Regions from separate parts of the Homo sapiens genome. Here region 2 is linked to region 1. The links are contacts of gene promoters, found by promoter capture Hi-C in blood cells and fetal thymus (Javierre and others, 2016). All regions are on one chromosome and are shown on one strand. The core of a region is centred on a gene start or on the middle of the fragment in contact, and the rest is flanking DNA. Distances in the headings are between cores, read along the strand shown.

The links. The method cuts DNA at HindIII sites, captures the fragments that hold promoters and counts their contacts. A CHiCAGO score of 5 or more calls a contact.
Region 2: a contact is called between a fragment that was not itself captured here and the fragment with the promoter of CADM3-AS1 in region 1, in 1 of 17 cell types (total B cells). The highest score is 6.7, in total B cells.

The regions. Positions count from the first base shown.
Region 1 is chr1:159,201,101-159,205,518 of GRCh38, forward strand. It overlaps CADM3-AS1 (CADM3 antisense RNA 1), which reads right to left and starts at 1,322. Exons shown (of 4, transcript NR_037870.1): 1 at 1,150-1,322; 2 at 1-521. It overlaps CADM3 (cell adhesion molecule 3), which reads left to right. Exons shown (of 9, transcript NM_001127173.3): 9 at 1-2,213. It overlaps ACKR1 (atypical chemokine receptor 1 (Duffy blood group)), which reads left to right and starts at 3,775. Exons shown (of 2, transcript NM_002036.4): 1 at 3,775-3,880; 2 at 4,361-4,418. The coding sequence starts at 3,860. The HindIII fragment of the contact is 9,224 bases long and covers 1-4,418 here.
Region 2 is chr1:157,967,173-157,971,757 of GRCh38, forward strand. No RefSeq gene overlaps it. Among named protein-coding and RNA genes, the nearest start is that of KIRREL1, 24 kb to the right of the region's middle. The HindIII fragment of the contact is 1,023 bases long and covers 2,222-3,244 here.

The sequences.
Region 1 (4,418 bases), core at 72-2,571:
GGAGGGAGGAGGGCGGGGGGAGGGGAGGGTTGCCCTCAGCCCTTTCCGTGGCTTCTCTGCATTTGGGTTATTATTATTTTTGTAACAATCCCAAATCAAATCTGTCTCCAGGCTGGAGAGGCAGGAGCCCTGGGGTGAGAAAAGCAAAAAACAAACAAAAAACAAAACCCTGGAGTGTTAGGAGGAGAGTGAAGGTAGAGGGGTGAGGAAGGGTAAGGGGCAGGGCTGGTTTCAGCTGGGGGCTCTCACCAGCCCTCCTTTCAGCCTCTACAACAGAGCAGCTTCCCAGACTTCTCCAGGAACCCAGAAACGGGATGGTTGTCGGCAAAGGTTGGGAGTGGCTTTTCCTCTGGTAGCCACACACCTGAGCACTACGGACAGGGAGGCAGGTGCCACCTTGACACCTCTCTTCCATAGCAATGGGAAAGTGATGAGTGCGGGAGTCCTGAGGAGATGTGGCCTGCAGACAACATGCAGCCATGCAGGGACCCAGGACTGTAACCTGGGGAGGACGCGGGTCCCTGCAAGGAAGAGTAGATTTGGAGAGGAAGGATGGAGGTGGACTCTCACCCCATTCCCCCCGGAAATGAACAAAGCCGGGCCCTTTCCATAGGAACTGCCCTTGGAGATAGCAGAGTGTGGCTGCCCCTCCTTGCTCCAGCAGCAGTGGGAGAGGCACTGCTCTGGGGCCTGAACTGCCTCTGCTTCCCCCCCTGAGGGGCCCCTCACTCTTACCCAAGACTCTGGATTGTTGCACGGCAACCACTCCTCCCATGGCATTGCTCAGCAACTACTTCTCCCTTCCCGGCCACCCTGTGCCCCCTTCCTGGTCCCAACGCCAGCCCTTCATCCTTCCTCCCTCAGCAGCCAGGCAGACATAACAACAAAACTACTAAAAGGAGCTTCACTGCAGTGAGCTGTTTCCTGCCCAAACTAAGGGAATAATGTGAACTGTGTGCATGTGTGTGGTGTGTATGCATGTGTGCATGTGTGTGTGTGTGTGTGCATGTGTGTGAGTGAGTGAGAGGCAGAGCGAGGAACTGAGGAGGAGGGCTAAGAGCCAGGGGTCCTGGGCAAGTGGACAGGGCTGTGGGACATGTTGGGGAGGCTTTGGGAATGGGGTATTCCTAGTCAGGGTTCACACCTCACCTGGGATGTTGTTCCATGCTGGTATTTCCTCTGCCACCCCCAATGCCCATCGGTCTTGGAGAAAGGAGTCCCCGGGTGTGTGTTTGCCCAGCTGTCCATTCTATCTCTCCCTTAAACACAGAGCATTCAGCCCTTCCCTGGATTTCCCTCCTCTGAGCCATGGAGTCAGTGCCACAGCCTTTGCTATGCACCTCTCAGGCCTCTCCTTGGCGTTGACCCTGGAAAGACCTACCACCACCTATTTTTTCCCATAGTCTGTACCCAGTGAGTTGAAGGCTGGGTCCCCACCCTTCCTTTTGATTTCCTGTCTTCCTTCTCGTGGCCCCAGCTGGTTGCTGTGGAGATGAGGTTCCTGGTCCTCCCTGTCCTGGCTGGACTGCCCCGCCTCAGATCCAGGATGCCCTTGGCATCGCTCCCACCCTCCCCCAGCTTTTCCTCCCTGGTCTGACAATGGGCATGCAAAAAGGGGCAGCTGCAATCTAGCAGGCCTGCCCACCCCCTTCAGTTCAGGTAATACAGTTGTGAATCTTCCAGCCGCTGGTTAGGGCCTTGGGCACCACAGGCAGCCCCTCACCTAAGCCGGGGCCTACTCCTCTTACAACAGCAAGAGAGCCCTGGGGCCCCAGGCCTGTTGAGCTTCTTGTCTCCCAGCACCCGCTTTTGGGAAAATGACTTTTCCTCTTCAAGCTGAACCACTCTGTCCATATTACACAGAAGCCATATTTGTACGGGGGGGTGGGAGGGAGAGGGGCTGTTGTGCTGTGTGTGTCTGTCCAGGGGTGGGGGGGTGGGGGAAGGGAGCAGGGAGGGGACCGTGTATCTTTATAATCTTTCTAACTCTCCTGTGCTAATCTCAGAGGGGTCACCCTCAATATATCTGGATTATCCGTGTCATTCAGCTGCCTCCTTTCTGGTCCTCTTGCTGCTGCTGGGATGTGTGTATGTGAGGGTCTTCTTCCCATACCCCTTGCACCTGGTGCCTGGTGCCTCAAAAGGTGGTGTGTCCCTTGCCAGGCCACTCTCAAGAATATCTATGTACAGCAACAATATAACTCTACAAGGGAGAGAAGTGTGTTCACTTCCTTTTGCTAAGCCCTTCCTTTCCAGAGAGTGTCTTGGGGGGCATCTGACTGCTTCCCCCCACCCTCTGCCAGGCATTGCTGGAGAATGTTAAGACGGCGATGGAGATGCCATCAACCCCACCCTGCAGAGCATCACCAGACACCACCAGACCAAATTCACTTTCCAGCCCCTTCATGTTGAACCTGAAACTTGAGCTAGTGTCTTGGGAGAAAAGGGGGAAATCTCTACGAGGTACCCATCCTTCTGCACCTTAGGTCTGAGGTGCTTGGCCCCCTAGGAAGCCCTACATGAATGGGACAGAAGGTCCTTAACAACACTGGAGATGAAGCAGCCGATGCTGTTTTGGACAAATGAAACAGCGTCCCCTAACCAGCCCTTTCTATCTCATTGTTCTGACTTGGACACGCCATGGCTCACCGCTCCCAAAGTCCCCACTATGTCTCCCTAGCTGAGGAAATAAAAGCAGAGAGGGGTGATGAAACAGTGACGATCCTGGGGAAACAGCTGAGGAGGGGAGGGAGGGGGAAGAAGCCACTAAAAAAGTGAAATGTGCTTGGGAGAATCGGCCTGCCTGCAGGGTAGATGCCCTTTCTCTCTGCTGGCCAGCTCTGCCCCTCAGTGAGAAACTTTACATATTGCTAAGATGCCTGGCCAATGAAACAGTTCCAGAGACTTTATGTCCCCCAGTAGAAATATGAATAGAAATCACCCTGTGGGCAATGGTCCCATTTTAAAATATGCTGTCCCATTGTCCCCTAGAGCCTACTTTAACTTGTCAGACCATGTATTCCACTTCATATGCAAGAGGCATGCACTGAGCCCATAGGTGGCTAGGCAAACACCCAATAGCTCCCTGAAATGGCTTCATTATGCAGCCTCGACAGCCACCCCAACCCTCCCACTCTCACACTGAAACACCCAGACCTAGAGATAGCTAGACACACCCAGACACCCGCCAAGCCCCTCACATACAGATATGTGCACAATGATACACAGCAAACGTACACAGAGTTCAGTACACACAAAGAGCTCACGCCCACGTGCACACACCCCTCAGTTGGGACAGAGTTGACCACCACCACCTTTCTCCCAAACACATGGCTTTTGAACTGCCTTTCCTTGGATCCAGTTCAAGGGGATGGAGGAGCAGTGAGAGTCAGCCGCCCTTCCACTCCAATTTCCCAGCACCTCCCTTATCTCTGCCTCACAAGTCACCCAGCCCCCCTCTCTTCCTTCCTTGTGCTTGAAGAATCTCTCCTTGCTGGAAAGCCCCCTGTTTTCTCAATCTCCCTTTCCACTTCGGTAAAATCTCTACTTGCTGGAAAGCCCCCTGTTTTCTCAATCTCCCTTTCCACTTCGGTAAAATGCCCACTTTCTGGTCCCCACCTTTTTCCTGAGTGTAGTCCCAACCAGCCAAATCCAACCTCAAAACAGGAAGACCCAAGGCCAGTGACCCCCATAGGCCTGAGGCTTGTGCAGGCAGTGGGCGTGGGGTAAGGCTTCCTGATGCCCCCTGTCCCTGCCCAGAACCTGATGGCCCTCATTAGTCCTTGGCTCTTATCTTGGAAGCACAGGCGCTGACAGCCGTCCCAGCCCTTCTGTCTGCGGGCCTGAACCAAACGGTGCCATGGGGAACTGTCTGCACAGGGTGAGTATGGGGCCAGGCCCCAGAGTCCCTTATCCCTATGCCCCTCATTTCCCCTGCTGTTTGCCCCTCAGTCTTTATATCTCTTCCTTTTCCTCCTCATCTTTTCTCCCTTCCTGCTTTTTTCCTCTTCCTTCAAAGTCTTTTTCCTTCTCTCCTTCCTATGCTAGCCTCCTAGCTCCCTCTTGTGTCCCTCCCTTTGCCTTTGAGTCAGTTCCATCCTGGTCTCTTGGTGCCTTTTCCTTCTGACCTTGCACTGCTCCTCCAGCCCCAGCTGCCCTGGCTTCCCCAGGACTGTTCCTGCTCCGGCTCTTCAGGCTCCCTGCTTTGTCCTTTTCCACTGTCCGCACTGCATCTGACTCCTGCAGAGACCTTGTTCTCCCACCCGACCTTCCTCTCTGTCCTCCCCTCCCACCTGCCCCTCAATTCCCAGGAGACTCTTCCGGTGTAACTCTGATGGCCTCCTCTGGGTATGTCCTCCAGGCGGAGCTCTCCCCCTCAACTGAGAACTCAAGTCAGCTGGACTTCGAAGATGTATGGA
Region 2 (4,585 bases), core at 1,483-3,982, 1.2 Mb before region 1:
AGTCATGCTTTAACTCAACTGAGACAGAAAATTCTAACCTGGGGAAAGAGAGAAAAAAAAAAGGATTTGTGAACAATCTTAATGACTACTCCACATGCAAATTCTGGTCCTGTGAATCTAGGAACTGCTGTGGACTGAATGCATGCATTCCCCAAAACTTTATTTGCTGAAGCCCTAATCCCCAATGTAATGGTATTTAGAGGTGGTGCCTTTGGGAGGTGATTAGGTCATAAGGGTGCATCCCTCATGAATGGGATTAGTGCCCTAAAATACACAAAAGAGATTCTCTCTCTCTCTCTCTCTCCACCATGTGAGGACACAGCAAGAGATCCAGCAAGAAGCTCAGAACCCATCTGCTGAAGCACAGAAGAGGGGTTCAGGACCCATCTGTTGAAGCTCAGAGAGTGGCTCAGGACCCCATCTGCTGAAGCTTAGAGAGCGGCTCAGGACCCCATCTTCTGAAGCTCAGAGAGGGGCTCAGGACCCCATCTGCTGAAGCTCAGAGAGGGGCTCAGGATCCCATCTTCTGAAGCTCAGAAGAGCGGCTCAGGACCCCATCTTCTGAAGCTCAGAAGAGCGGCTCAGGACACCATCTTCTGAAGCTCAGAGAGCGGCTCAGGACCCCATCTGCTGAAGCTCAGAGAGCGGCTCAGGACCCCATCTTCTGAAGCTCAGAAGAGCGGCTCAGGACCCCATCTGCTGGCACCCTGATTTTGGACTTTCAGTATCCAAAACTGTGAGAGATACATTTCTGATTTTTAAGCCATCCTGTCTATGGTATTTGTCATAGCAACCCAATCTAACCAAGAATCTAGTGTATATCTGTGGGCAGGTTCCTAAACTTATCTTTCGTTTTCTTCAGCTATGGAACGGGGTAAGAATAATAAGAACAACCTCTTAGAGGATTAAATGTGGTAATCTGTGTAATGCACTGAGCACCATGTCTGGCACATAGTAAGTGCTCAATCGCTCTGTTGGCCTTTGTTATTACCATTATTATTATCATTAGGTGTGACAGCAGCAGTAGTATCCTGTAGAAGTGGACCTCTGAAGTTGAGTATTGAAGAGCAGGTCACACCCACAAACACGTATGCACACTCACCTTTACTGGTTAACCTGGTCTGAGGTAACAACATCCTCTCCAATATCCCCTCTCCATCACCACCACCGACATCTTTAGTCAGAAGCAGGTGGCAGTGATGGACATTGCAGCAGGCCTGAGCTGCCACCATCTTCTCTCTTCTCTACACACATGGAGCGTTTGCCTCGCTCAGGTCACTCACCCACCTCAGGCCTCAGTTACTTCACTACAAAACCGGAGCAATAATACTATTTAATGACCCGAGAGCTGGGCCAGAGAGTCCTTCAACTTCCCCTTCCGTGCCAACGCCTTTGATTCTTTTCTCCAACTGTCATCACCCCCACTCCTTGTAGCCTTCCTGGACCATATCCCTGAACTGGTCCTACATGACTCATGGCCTGGGTTCCAGGTGGCCTGGAAAGAAGGGGAGGAGCTTCAGATGTGGCCTGAGTTTCCTCTGCCTCCCCAGAGGCCAAACAGACATCTGTTCCTGTGGCTGTCACGTCAGCACAAAATGTGTGCCAAGGGAACAGCAGGAAGAAGAGTGTGTAAATCGGCTGGTTTTCTGTGTGTGTTTCAAACTGCCTTGTAGAGGCACAGAGCCATTGTTGGGAGGAGATCCCTGAACGGTTGTTGACCACTGAGGCGCCCACCCTCCTTCATCAGCTTGCACAGGGGACTGTGAGGCTTAATAAGCTGATTGTCATTTAGATTATCAAGGGTACAATTCTGGGCCCACAGGTCACAGCTCTGCCTGCTCTGCCTGAGCAAGCCTGAGGAGGCTGGGAAGCTTTATGTTCCACTCTAGAAAAGAAGACATGATTTCCCATCTTTCATAATCAAACCAACTCATACTTATTCACAGCTTGGCAGGCTTTCAGCACTGTGTGAGCATCAGTCAACTCTTCATTCGATTCATTCCCTGGCAAGCCTCTGCCATGAGCAAGAGGCAGGTCCTAAGACATGTTTACTGTGCAGTCTGTGCCTTCTAGAATCGTACAGACTATTAGGGGAGATAAGACAGAGGTGCTGCAAAAAGATTGTGTAAAACAACAGGTATTGAATGTGGTGAGGGTCAATTGAAAAACAACAGCTCTCTGATGACAATCAGCAGACAAAGAAAAGACTTGTTACATCAGAAGCTTTCCTTACCCACTTTCCAGCCTGGTGGATGTGGTCTTAGCCTTGGATATGGCAGATGCTTTAGAAAGAGGTCAGGGTTCTGACCACTGAATCAGGGTGAACTGGACAGCTATGGAGGTGAGAAGAGTGCAGTAGGAGAGAGTAAGGATGATACTCACCGTGTAGGTCTGTGAGCCAGTTCGACTGTTTCTAGCACATTTATAGAAGCAAGGAGAGCTGGCCTGGTGGGACAGAGCATAAAGATGGGGAAACTGTGAGGCTTTTTGCTCCTCTCTTGTAAGATTTCTGATATTAAAATCAAAACAAATATTCATTGCAAACCTATTTATATGTGTCATGCACTGGGTTAGGGACTTTCATTCTGTTATTTAATTTTCTCCTCACCGCAGCCCTTTGGATATGTTTTACAATTCCTACTTCCCAGATTATTAAATTGAGGCTCAAAGAAGGAAATGATTCATACACTGGTTAAGTGTTGAGCCAGAATATACAGCCAGGTCTTCTAAAACCTGCCTCCAAATTTCCTCCCCTTGACCATCCTCCACTAGGTGGCCATAGTGAGCCACTTGAAACACCAAATCCCATCATATTGTTCCTTAGCCTACAATCCTGCAGTGGCTCCTGGTGTTGCCAGGACAAAGTCAAAACCCTGGGTATGGCATACAAGACCTTCTACATCCAGCTAATTACATTTTCAATCTCATATTCCATCTAATCCCTGCCTCACTGTCTGCACCCAATGATAAGAAATGCTATCATTTATTGAGCATCTACGATGTGCCAGACACTGTCCCAAGCACTTCACGTGAATTGATTTGTTTCCTTCTCATGACAACCCTATGAGGCAGACACTATGATATTCCCCACTTTATGACTGGGGAAACTGATTCACCTAGTGGTTTAGTAATGTGCCCAAGGTCACATATCTTGCAGAGAGTCTGGGAGTCACACCCAGGCAGTTCAGCTCTTGAAAAGAAATGCTGCTCTCTTTGTGATTTCCACACACAACAAGCTGTTTCAAGCTTCCATGATTTGATTTATATTCTCCCTTCTACTTGAAATACCATTCCCTTCTTTCTTCCCCTGGATAAAAATCACTTATCTTTCAAGACTTGGTTTAGGACTTATCTTTTCAAAGTATTTCTGTTAGTCCATTTCACATGGCTGTAAAGGAATGCCTGAGGCTGGGTAATATATAAAGAAAAGAGGCATATTTTGATTCATGGTTCTGCAGGCTGTATAAGAAGCATGTTACTGGCATCTGCTCCTGGTAAGACCCCAGGAACCTTCCAATCATGGTGGAAAGTAAAGGGGAAGTCAGTGTATCACATGGCAAGAGAAGGAGCAAGAGAGAGAGGGGAGATAGTGCCAGGCTTTTTTAAACAACCAGGTCTCATGTGAACTCACAGAGTGAGAACTCACTCATTGCCACAAGGACAGTATCATGCCATTGATGAAGGATCTGCCTTCATGACTGAAACACCTCCCACCAGGCCCACCTTCAACATTATAGGTCACATTTCACCATGAGATTTGGAGGGGACAGAACATCCAAATCATATCTTTCAGACCCTGGCTCCCTAAATTTCATGGTTTTCTCACATTGCAAAATACAACCATCTTTTCCCAATAGTCCCCAAAAGTCTTAGCTCATTCTAGCATCCACTCAATCAAAAGTCCAAAGTCTCATCTGAGACTCAAGGCAGGTTCCTTCTATTTATGAGTCTGTAAAACCAAAAACAACCTATTTACTTCCAAGATACAATGGTGATACCAGTATTGGGTAAACATTCCACTCTGAAAGGGAGATACCAGCCAAAAGAAAGGGACAACAGGCACCATGGAGTCTGAAACCCAGCAGGGCAATCCTTACCTCTTAAAGCTCCAAAACAATCTTTGACTCCATGTCCTGCATCCTGTGCACATTGATGCAAGAAGTGGGCTCTCAAGGCCTTGGACAGCTCCACCCCTGTGGTTTTACAGGGTGCAGCCCCTGTGGCTGCTCTCACAGGTTGGAGTTAAGTGTCTGTGGCTTTTTCAGATTCAGGGTGCATGCTGCCAGTGGCTCTCCCATTCATGGGTCTAGAGGACAGCGGCCTCCTTCCCACAGCTCCACTAGCCAGTGCCCTAATGCAAACTCTGTGTGGGGGCTCCAATCCCACATTTCCCCTTGGCACTGTCCTAGTAAAGTCTCTCTGTGGGGGTTCTGTCCCTGTGACAGGCTTCTGCCTGGGCACACAGGCTTTCTAATACATCCTCTGGAATCTAGGCGGGAGCTGGCAAAACTCCTTCATTCTTGCATTTTGCACACCTGCAGGCTTAACACCATGTGGAAGCTACCAAGTCTTATAGTGACACCCT